2 separate regions of the Homo sapiens genome follow, and region 2 is linked to region 1. Evidence: promoter capture Hi-C in human tissues and cell types (Jung and others, 2019). All regions are on one chromosome and are shown on one strand. Each heading gives the region's core, a stretch centred on a gene start or on the middle of the fragment in contact. The rest is flanking DNA. Distances are from core to core; before and after follow the strand shown. Region 1 holds the start of TLR5 (toll like receptor 5). Region 2 has its middle 35 kb from the start of DISP1.

Evidence for each region. Contacts are between HindIII fragments. The study calls those that stand out against the background at their distance.
Region 2: a fragment that was not itself captured here is called in contact with the fragment with the promoter of TLR5 in region 1 in 2 of the 25 tissues and cell types used here (mesendoderm cells and thymus).

Annotation. Positions count from the first base shown.
Region 1 is chr1:223,140,964-223,145,665 of GRCh38, forward strand. It overlaps TLR5 (toll like receptor 5), which reads right to left and starts at 2,285. Exons shown (of 6, transcript NM_003268.6): 1 at 2,233-2,285; 2 at 685-800. It overlaps LOC124904522 (a long non-coding RNA gene), which reads left to right and starts at 2,392. Exons shown (of 2, transcript XR_007066895.1): 1 at 2,392-2,635. RefSeq lists a silencer at 2,074-2,443. The HindIII fragment of the contact is 6,140 bases long and covers 1-4,364 here.
Region 2 is chr1:222,778,096-222,782,797 of GRCh38, forward strand. No RefSeq gene overlaps it. Among named protein-coding and RNA genes, the nearest start is that of DISP1, 35 kb to the right of the region's middle. The HindIII fragment of the contact is 7,196 bases long and covers 1-4,702 here.

The DNA of each region.
Region 1 (4,702 bases), core at 1,035-3,534:
CCAGAGAGCGGAAGACACTATACGCTGTTGCTCTCACATTAAGGGACCAAGGCTGGGAATCACTTAAGCTTCAGAAATCTGATTGAAGCTTTGGATCTGCCTTCTGCATTCTTTTCCACAATGTTAAGAGTGAAACAAACACATCTGGATGCAGTAACTGGACATTCCAGTGCTGTCTGCTGTTTAAGTCTGTTAGTATACAGAGACAAATAAACAGGAGAGTTTTGCTTTCAACACTCAGCAGAGCCAAACTTCCTGATGCACGGGAATGAACAACGGAGGCACTGTTCTGGAAACACCGTCCTCCAGAGAGGCGCTCCCTCCTCAGAAACAACACCGAAAACCTGGCATGGCTGGTTTTGCATTCAGACAATGGCACCTACATGCTTTTTGCTTTGCTCAGAGCTGTAAATATCCAAAGAGGTGATCCTCTGCCATCATTTTGGAAGGAAGAATCAGTCAGACTGATAATTAGGGTCATACGCACAGGCATGGTCATGCTGATTGTTGAAATTTAGATTATTTTTGGCCCAGCACAGTGGCTCACACCTGTAATGCCAGCACTGTGGGAGGCCAAGACAGGCGGATCACCTGAGGTCAGGAGTTTGAGATCAGCCCGACCAACATGGTGAAACCCCATTTCTACTAAAAATACAAAAATTAGACAGGCGTAGTGGTGGGTACCTGTAATCCCAGCTACTTGGGAGGCTGAGGCAAGAGAATCGCTTGAACCCTGGAGGCAGTGGTTGCAGTCAGCCGAGATTGTGTCACTGCAGTCCAGCCTGGGCGGCAGAGTGAGACTGTCTCAAAAAAAAAATTACATATATATATATATATATATATATATATATATATATATAGAGAGAGAGAGAGAGAGAGAGAGAGAGAGAGAGAAAGAGAGAGAGAGAGATTATTTTTGTACTGCTTAGTAATTAGCTTTAGCACGGTCTCTCCTCTGGGACCTCCCCTGGAATTTCCCCACAATCCAGTAACTGAATAATTAGCATCCAGCCCCACAGAACTTCTCCCAGGGCCCTGCTCCAGGGCTTCCCTTCTGACTGGCTGTGCATGGCACACTGGGAATTGTTTTCTGCCCACAAGAACAAGGGTGAACTGAGTCAAGGAGTCCAAGAGATCTTGGACGCACTTCTCAGAATTCGGAGGGGCTGGGTAAATGCAGGAGAAAATTGATGAAACCACATTGGCCCTGCAAGAGCCTGACTGCTCCTGCACGGTAGCTACCCCTAGCATTAGCGGGGAGTCACCAATGCCTCTTCCAGGCACTGAGCAAGAGGGCGGCATTACAGATGCACTTGCCGTCCAAACAGATCATCTCATTGACTAGGTGACTGCTCAGCAACAGTATCTGAAGGACACTAGGGTTACTCTGCTTGTTTGCAGTTCACGGTGCTGGACGGATGTGTTCCCAACACTAGGTAACAACACCGCTCTCCCTCCTCCGGGAGAAAGCCGCAGCCGTCGATTCCCACCCAACAGGGCCTCAGCGCCTTCCCAGGGCAGCACCCTCACTCCTGCAACCACCAATCACCCAAGCCACAGCATGGTCCCAGACCCACCCTCGCCCCTTAGGAAATGGCTTTCCAATTGTGTTTTCACAGGAGCATGGCCACTGGGCAATGATCTTCACAGGCAGGCTTTTTTTTCCCCCTCTCAACATAAAGGCCAGCAATATTTACCACGGAGTCTTGGCCAGTGTGCACTGCCTGGTGCTGTGGGGTGGGGTGTTTAGGGCCTTTTGTTGAGCAGCTCAGTGACTTTCTGGGATTTCCATGGCCCTGCTGGAGATGGCCCTCTGTCTCCCTTTTCCAAGGAAGAAAGTGACTGGGGACAAGCCACCTGCCTCTTCCACAGGGTGGGGGCGAGAGTGACAGCGAGACAGCACAAGAAGGACCCGCTCTGTTTCAAAGCGAGGATGTGAGTGACTTCGTCTGTGCCGAGGTCTCTTCGTCTCCAACCTGCCGGGCACAGGGCACCCACATGACACGCTCACCCCGTCCCTGGGCCGAGGGACCCCACGTCTCGCGGGTGCCGCGGGGCAGAGAGCGCCGCCTAGTGAGGCGGCGCGAGTTGGACATAGACTGGAAAATAGACCCGGACAGCCCGGGAGGAGGGCGGAGAGGAGTCCGACCTCCGCAGGCAGCCGCGTCCCCGCCCCGCGCTGCCTACGACTTAGGGCCCCCGGCCCATCCCCTGCCGCTGCAGGGCGCTCACCTCTGGGACGCCTCCCCGCGCCGCCTGCGCCACGGTTGGCTCCTCCCGGACGCAAAAGCGGCGCCCTCGCTCGGGCTCCTGAAAACCTCGCGGCCCCGCCCACGGAAGGGCCCGCCCACCTGCCAGGCCACGCCCCCGTCTCGGCCACGCCGCAGCTCAGGGTTTTCTCTGAGGGCTGTGAGAGGCTAGGCCCGGGGAGAGGAGGCAGAGGTTATGCTCCGGTCTCTGCAGACTTCCACAGTGTCTATCGAGATCACACATGCCAGCATTGCCCCCTCCCATCCTCTCCTCATCGTACGGAGGAGGAAACCCAGGCCGAAGACCTGAAGTGTCCAAAAGCACAGCCAGGCCAAAGAGAAGCACCATCCCATGTTCTCCCACTCCCACTCCGGTGCTTCTTCAGGTAGGCTAAACTTCAGGCTAAAATGTGAAGATCACAGTGACACATTCCTGTCAGCAGAATCTGCTGCATATGTTTGGGAGCTGGGGTGTTTGGAAGCTCCGATTTTGTGTGGAGGACCCAAGAGAGAAGACAGACCCTTCCTGTCCTATAAGAACAGTGCTCCTCCTGCCCTAACTTCTCTTTTCCTTTTTCTAACTCCCTCTGCCTATGGGGTTTGCTGAAACTTTCAGGAAAAGGGACGTGTCAAAAGAAAGAAATGGACACCCCAGAGGCCGTGCAACCACAGGGTTAAAAGGAGGTAGCCTTATGAGAAAGCGGTGGAGTGGCTTTCTGGGGTGAAACCCAGTTCAAGGACAGAAATAGCACTGTCTTGAGTTAAGACTGGTGGTGGGGGAAGCCTGGGGGTGGGGCGCAGACTGCAGGCGGAGGAGCTCCCTGCCACCTGCCACTTGGGGTGTAATCACAGAGCAGCTGACACTCCCCACTCACTGCCTGGAGGAGCTTGGCGGTGGGATCGGGCAAGGCGGGAAAGATAGGTGTAAAACAAAGCCTGGCACTTAATTACAGTGCAAAGATCTCATTATAGAGTCTTCTCAGCTCCCCTCCTCGGCTGGCAGCTTGAAGCCTGAGTGACAAATTGCCTAGGTAGGTCTCCAAGGGCTGTATGTAGAGGGATGAAACCACCTCCCTGCCCACCCGAACCCCACTGTGGGGGCTGTGGAGAGGGAGGGGATGTTCACACTCTGGCATATGCAGGGGGCAGTGGGGAAGTCTGTAAGGGCACCTAGAAAGCAGTAAGAGCTGGGAGCCACAGTGGCCCTAGCCTGACATAAATAACACCTTGCTGGGGCAAGCCCAGTGTTCCCTCTTTTGGTAGTGGAACCGAGGGCAAGGTTGGGGACAGCTTGACGTGTGGCACTGTTTACTCTGCATCATAGGTGGATGCTGCAAGACCAGCAGGGGCCTGGCTTATCATGCAACTTTGTGAATATGTGGGAGAGAGGAGCCTTCCAGACGGTGTTATGGCCTCCCAGGAACTCCCAAAGCCCCCTCCCCAGGGTGGCATCTGGTTTTGGACACTGGTTTCTGTCACTGAGCTCCAGGGACTCATGTCACACCTGGAAGAACTTTTAGATTCTGTCTGCCTGGCCATGTCTTCCAACAGCCGAGATCATTGAGGAAGATGACAACTTCTACCTGAACAGCCAGGACAGCTTAGGGTCTTCTCACATGTGGACCTTGAAATGCACTTCTGTTATTTTTCTCCAGTATATTCAGGGGAAGGGGGCTGGTGATCAAAGCTTTTGCTGAGCAGGAACAGAAGGGTTGTCACTTGCTTTTTTCTCCACTGAAACCTAGAGTAGCAAACACATCCTCGGGGTGCTATGTGATGCTCACAGGCAGAGCCCTGCCAGAGGTTCCCGTCATTCCCATATATTAAACCTTCAATGTCTTCCCTATGAACTACAAACAAAGTTTATATTCTAGGTCAAAACCCCATCGTCTAGCCCCTGACAACTTCTCTAGGCTTGTCTGCTTCCAGCCCCAACCTCCCAGTCCCCAGCCTCAGCAGCTGCCTTCCACTTGCTTAAGGTCTTCACGCATGCTATTTCTTCTACCTGGAATACTCTTTCTCCATGACTTTGCGTAGCTCACTCCTACCCACATTTTAGTGTTCCCTGTAATGTAACTTCTTCAAAGAGAACTTCCCTAACTCTTCTAATTAAATTAGGTCCCTCCCATTATTCTTCCTCTTTATAACCTATTCTTTTCCTTCACAACTCTCATTTCAATTTATGATTTTACATGGACATGTTTATTGGTTCAAGGTCAGCCTGTCCTTCATACTTAATAGATTTAATAGACTGTAAGCCTCACGAGGGTAGGGGCCATGTCTGATTTGTTCACTTCAAATCCAGTATCTGACAAGTGTCTCCCTATAAATATTTATTGATGAATGAATGAGTGAATGAATGATATCAGCAATCTTTATCTTAAAAGATAAAATTAGAACTCAATAAACTTGTAAACATAAGCAGTAGTGACTATTTCCATTAAAAAAGGTAG
Region 2 (4,702 bases), core at 566-3,065, 360 kb before region 1:
ACCATATAGCCTAGATGTGCGGTAGGCTCTATCATCCATGTTTATGTAAGGGCACTCTATGATGTTTACTCAAAGGCAGAATCACCTAATGATGCATTTCTCAGAACGTATTCCCATTGTTAAGCAATGCATGGCTGTATGCCAAAAGTGCTATTTCAAGTTAATGGGAAAACTATGGTTTATTTTAAATTGGTTATGACACAACTGGCCTAGAGAAGAATAAAATTGGGATCCCTGCTTCACACCATATACAAAAATAAATTTCCAGAAAAACTTAAACTCTATATGTAAACAAAAACTATAGAACAATTTTAAAAGAATATATGTGTAAGCTAGGGTTTGGAGAGAGAAACCTTTTTAATCAAGACAAGAGCCTAGAGGCAATAAAATATAAAATAAATATATTCGATGATATAAAATATAAAATGTTATATGGCAAAATAAAAACAAAATCACAAGACAAAAAGATTGATAAAAAGTATGTGCCACAAAAATAACTCACACATAAAATGAATATGCATATCTGTCAGAAGGTTCCTATAAATTGACTATCAACAGAATACAGAAATAGAGACAAATAAATATAAAAAGTCAATTTATAGAAGAGAAATGCAAATGGTCAATAAACCAATGAAAATATTTTCTAATGTGGAGAAAATGCAAATTAAAGTAACAATGAGATGTCTCAACTTATCTACCAAATTAGCAGACAATAAAAACTTACTATTGATGAAAATGTGAAAAAAACCTATTCTGTGCATATATTGCCAGGGGAAATTTGGATTGTTACAGCTTTTATGGAAAGCAATCCAGATATATATTTTAAATTTTACAATTTACATACTCTGATGGAGAAATCCTTCTGGAAATCTATCTGCTATAAGTGAAATTCCAATATGTAAAAATATACATGCAAAGATGTTTACCATAGCGTTGTTTGTTGCAGCAAAAAATTAGAAACTGAGTAAATGCCTTTCAATATGGTGGAAGAAACTGTGATACAATTAAGCCATGGAATATAAGTTAATTATTGAAAAGAACGAGTTGCAGCAGGGCATGATGGCTCACTCCTGTAATCCCAGCACTTTGGGAGGCCAAGGCAGTAGGATTGCTTGAGCCCAGGAGTTTGAGACCAGCCTGGACCACATAAGGAGATCCCGTACCTACAAAAAAATTTAAAAATTAGCCAGGTGTGGTGGCTCAGGAGGCTAAGATAGGAGGATTGCTTGAGCCTAGGTGGTCAAGGCTGCAGTGAGCCGTGATTGCACCACTGCACTCCAGCCTGGGTGACAGGGAAAACCCGTCTCAAAAAAAAAAAAAAGAATGAGTTGGATGTATACCACTGAGGGAAATTCCATAATGTATCAAGAGAAAAAAAAAAGTAAAAAAAACTAGACACAAAGGAATACAGATAATATGATCCCATTTTTGTAAAATACACATGAATTAGAAAAGAAAAGCTTATTATATATAGTTTATACGTGATTGTATGAATACAAATGAAGCATGAAAGAATAGATAACAGATTGTAAATTTTGGCAGAGGAGAGGAGTAATAGGAAACAAAAGGAGACTAAAGAATTTCCCTGTTCTTTTATAATAATTATTATTATTATTATTTACCACATGATTACTGATTTTTTTTTTTAACAGAGTCTCGCTGTGTCGCCCAGGCTGGAGTGCAGTGGTGCTATCTCGGCTCACTGCAACCTCCTCCTCCCGGGTTCAAGCGATTCTTGTGCCTCAGCCTCCTGAGTAGTTGGGACTACAGGTGCATGCCACCACGCCTGGCTAATTTTTGTATTTTTAGTAGAGACAGGGTTACACCATGTTGACCAGGCTGGTCTCAAACTCCTGACCTCAAGTGATCCACCCACCTCAGACTCCCAAACTGCTGGGATTACAGGTGTGAGCCACCACGCCAGGCTATGATTTTCTATTTAGTAGGAACGATAAAAAATATACGAGGATACTAATTTAAATACTGAGATATAGTTCTAAAATAAATTATGATTTTTCTTTTTTCTTTTATTTTAAAATATTTAATTGACAAATATTGTATATACTCAAGGTGTACAATGTGATGAGGCATATGCATATACATTGTGATATGGACAATCAAATTAACCCATCTATTACCACCTATGCTATACATTGGATCCCCAGAACTTTATCATCTTAAAACTGAAAGTTTGTACTCTTTGACCATCATCTCTCCATTTTTTCCACTTCGAACTCCTAGCAACCACCATTCTACTTTCTGCCCCTGAGTTCAACTTTTTGAGATTCCACATACAAGTGAGGTCATACAGTATTTGTCTTTCTGTGTCCAGCTTATTTCACTTAGAATAATATCCTTTAGGTTTATCAATGCTGTCACAAATGACAGGATTTTTTTTTATGGCTGAATAATCTTTCATTGTATCTAACACATTTTATTTACTCATTCATCTGTCAATGGGCACTTAGGTTGTTTCCATATCTTGGCCATCGTGAATAATGCTGCAACGAATATGGGGATATAGATATCTCTTCAAGATACTGATTTCATTTCATTTGGATATATACCCAGAAGTGGGATTGCTTGATCATATGGTAGTTCTATTTTTAATTTTTTGAGGAACCTCCATACTGTTTTCCATAATAGTTGTACCAATTGGTATTTCCACCAACAGTATACAAGGTTCCCTTTTCTTCATGCCCTTGTCAACACTTGTTATCTTTTTTCTTTTTGATAATAGCCATCCTAAGAGATGTGAGGTGATATCTCATTGTGGTTTTAATTAGAATTCTCTGGTGATTAGTGATTTTGAGCACTTCTTTATATATCTGTTGGCAATCTGTGTGTCATCTTTGGAAAAATGCCTATTTAGGTCTTTTGCCCATTTTTTAATTGGGTTACTTATTTTTTTGCTATGGAGTTTGTTGTACATTTTGATATTAACCCTTTATCAGATATATAGTTTGCATATGTTTTCTCCCATTTCACAGGTTGCATTTTCATTGTGTTGATTATTTCATTTGCTGTTCAGTAGCTTTTCAGTTTGATATAGTCCCATATGTTTATTTTTGCTTTTGTCGCTAGTGCTTTTGTTGACATATCCAAAACAGTCAGAAAACAATTAACAAAATGGCAACAGTATGCCCTTACTTATTAATAATTACTCTAAATATAAATGGATTACATTTGCTAATCAAAAGACACAGAGAGGCCGAATGGATTAATAAACAAGATCCAATAATATGCTAACTACAAGAGATTCATTTTAGTCTCAAGGGCACACAGACTGAAAGTGTAGGGGTGGAAAGAGATACTCCATGCAAACGGAAACCAAAAGAGAGCAGGGGTAGCTATATTTATATTAAACAAACTAGACTTTTAGTCAAAATCTGTCACAAGAGGTCAGGTGCTGTGGCTCATGCCTTGAATGCTAGCACTTTGGGAGGCTTAGGTGAGCGGTTCACTCGAGCACATGAGTTCAAGACCAGCCTGAGCAACATGGCAAAACTCCATCTCTACAAAAAATACAAAAATTAGCCAGGCATGTTGGTGTGTGCCTGTAGTCCCAGCTACTTGAGAGGCTGAGGTGGGAGGATGGCTTAAGCCCAGGAGGCAGAGGTTGCAGTGAACCAAGATTATGCCACTGCACTCCAGCCTTGGCAACAGAGCCAGACGTTATCTTGAAAAAAACAAATAAATAAAAAATAAACAAAATCTGTCACAAAAGACAAAGAAGATCACAATATGATGATAAGAGGTCAATTCATCAGGAGGGTATAACAATTGTAAATACATATGCACCTAACATTGGAGCACCTAAATATGTAAAGCAAATATTAACAGAACTAGAAAGAGAAACAGACAGCAATGCAATAATAATAAGGGACTTCAATCACCCACATTCAACAATGGATAGATCATCTAGAGAGAAGATTAGTAATGAAATAGCAGATGTGAATAAAACTATAGACAAATCAACCTACCAAACATAGACAGAACAATCCATTCAACAGAAGCAAACACACATTCTTCTCAGGAGCACACAGTACCTACTCCAGGGTAGATCACACGTTGGGCCACAAAACCAGTCTTAAATCTAAGAAGATTGAAATCATATCAAGTATCTTTTCTGATCGAAATGTTACAAAACTAAAAATTGACAATAGGAAGAATTTTAGAAAATTCACAAATACATAAAATTAAACAATACACTCCTGAACAACCAATGGATCAAAGAAGAAAACAAAAGAAACTCAAAAAGTGTCTTGAAACAAATGAAAATTGAACACAACATACCAAAACTTATGGGATGGGGCAAAAGCGGTGCTAAGAGGAAAGTCTGTGGTGATAAATGCCTACATTAAGGAAAAAGACAGACACCAAGTAAATAACCTAACTTCACACCTCAAGGAACTGGAAAAACAAACTAAGCTCAAGTCAGCAGAAGGTAGGAAATAAATATTAGAGCGGAAATAAATGAAATAGTCCGGGTGCGGTGGCTCATACCTGTAATCTCAGCACTTTGCGAGGCCGAGACAGGCGTATCACCTGAGGTCAGGAATTCAAGACCAGCATGGCCAACATGGCGAAACCCCATCTCTACTATAAATACAAAAATTAGCCAGGAGTGGTGGCATGCACCTGTAGTCCCAGCTACTTGGGAGGCTGAGGCATGAGAATTGCTTGAACCCAGGAGGCGGAG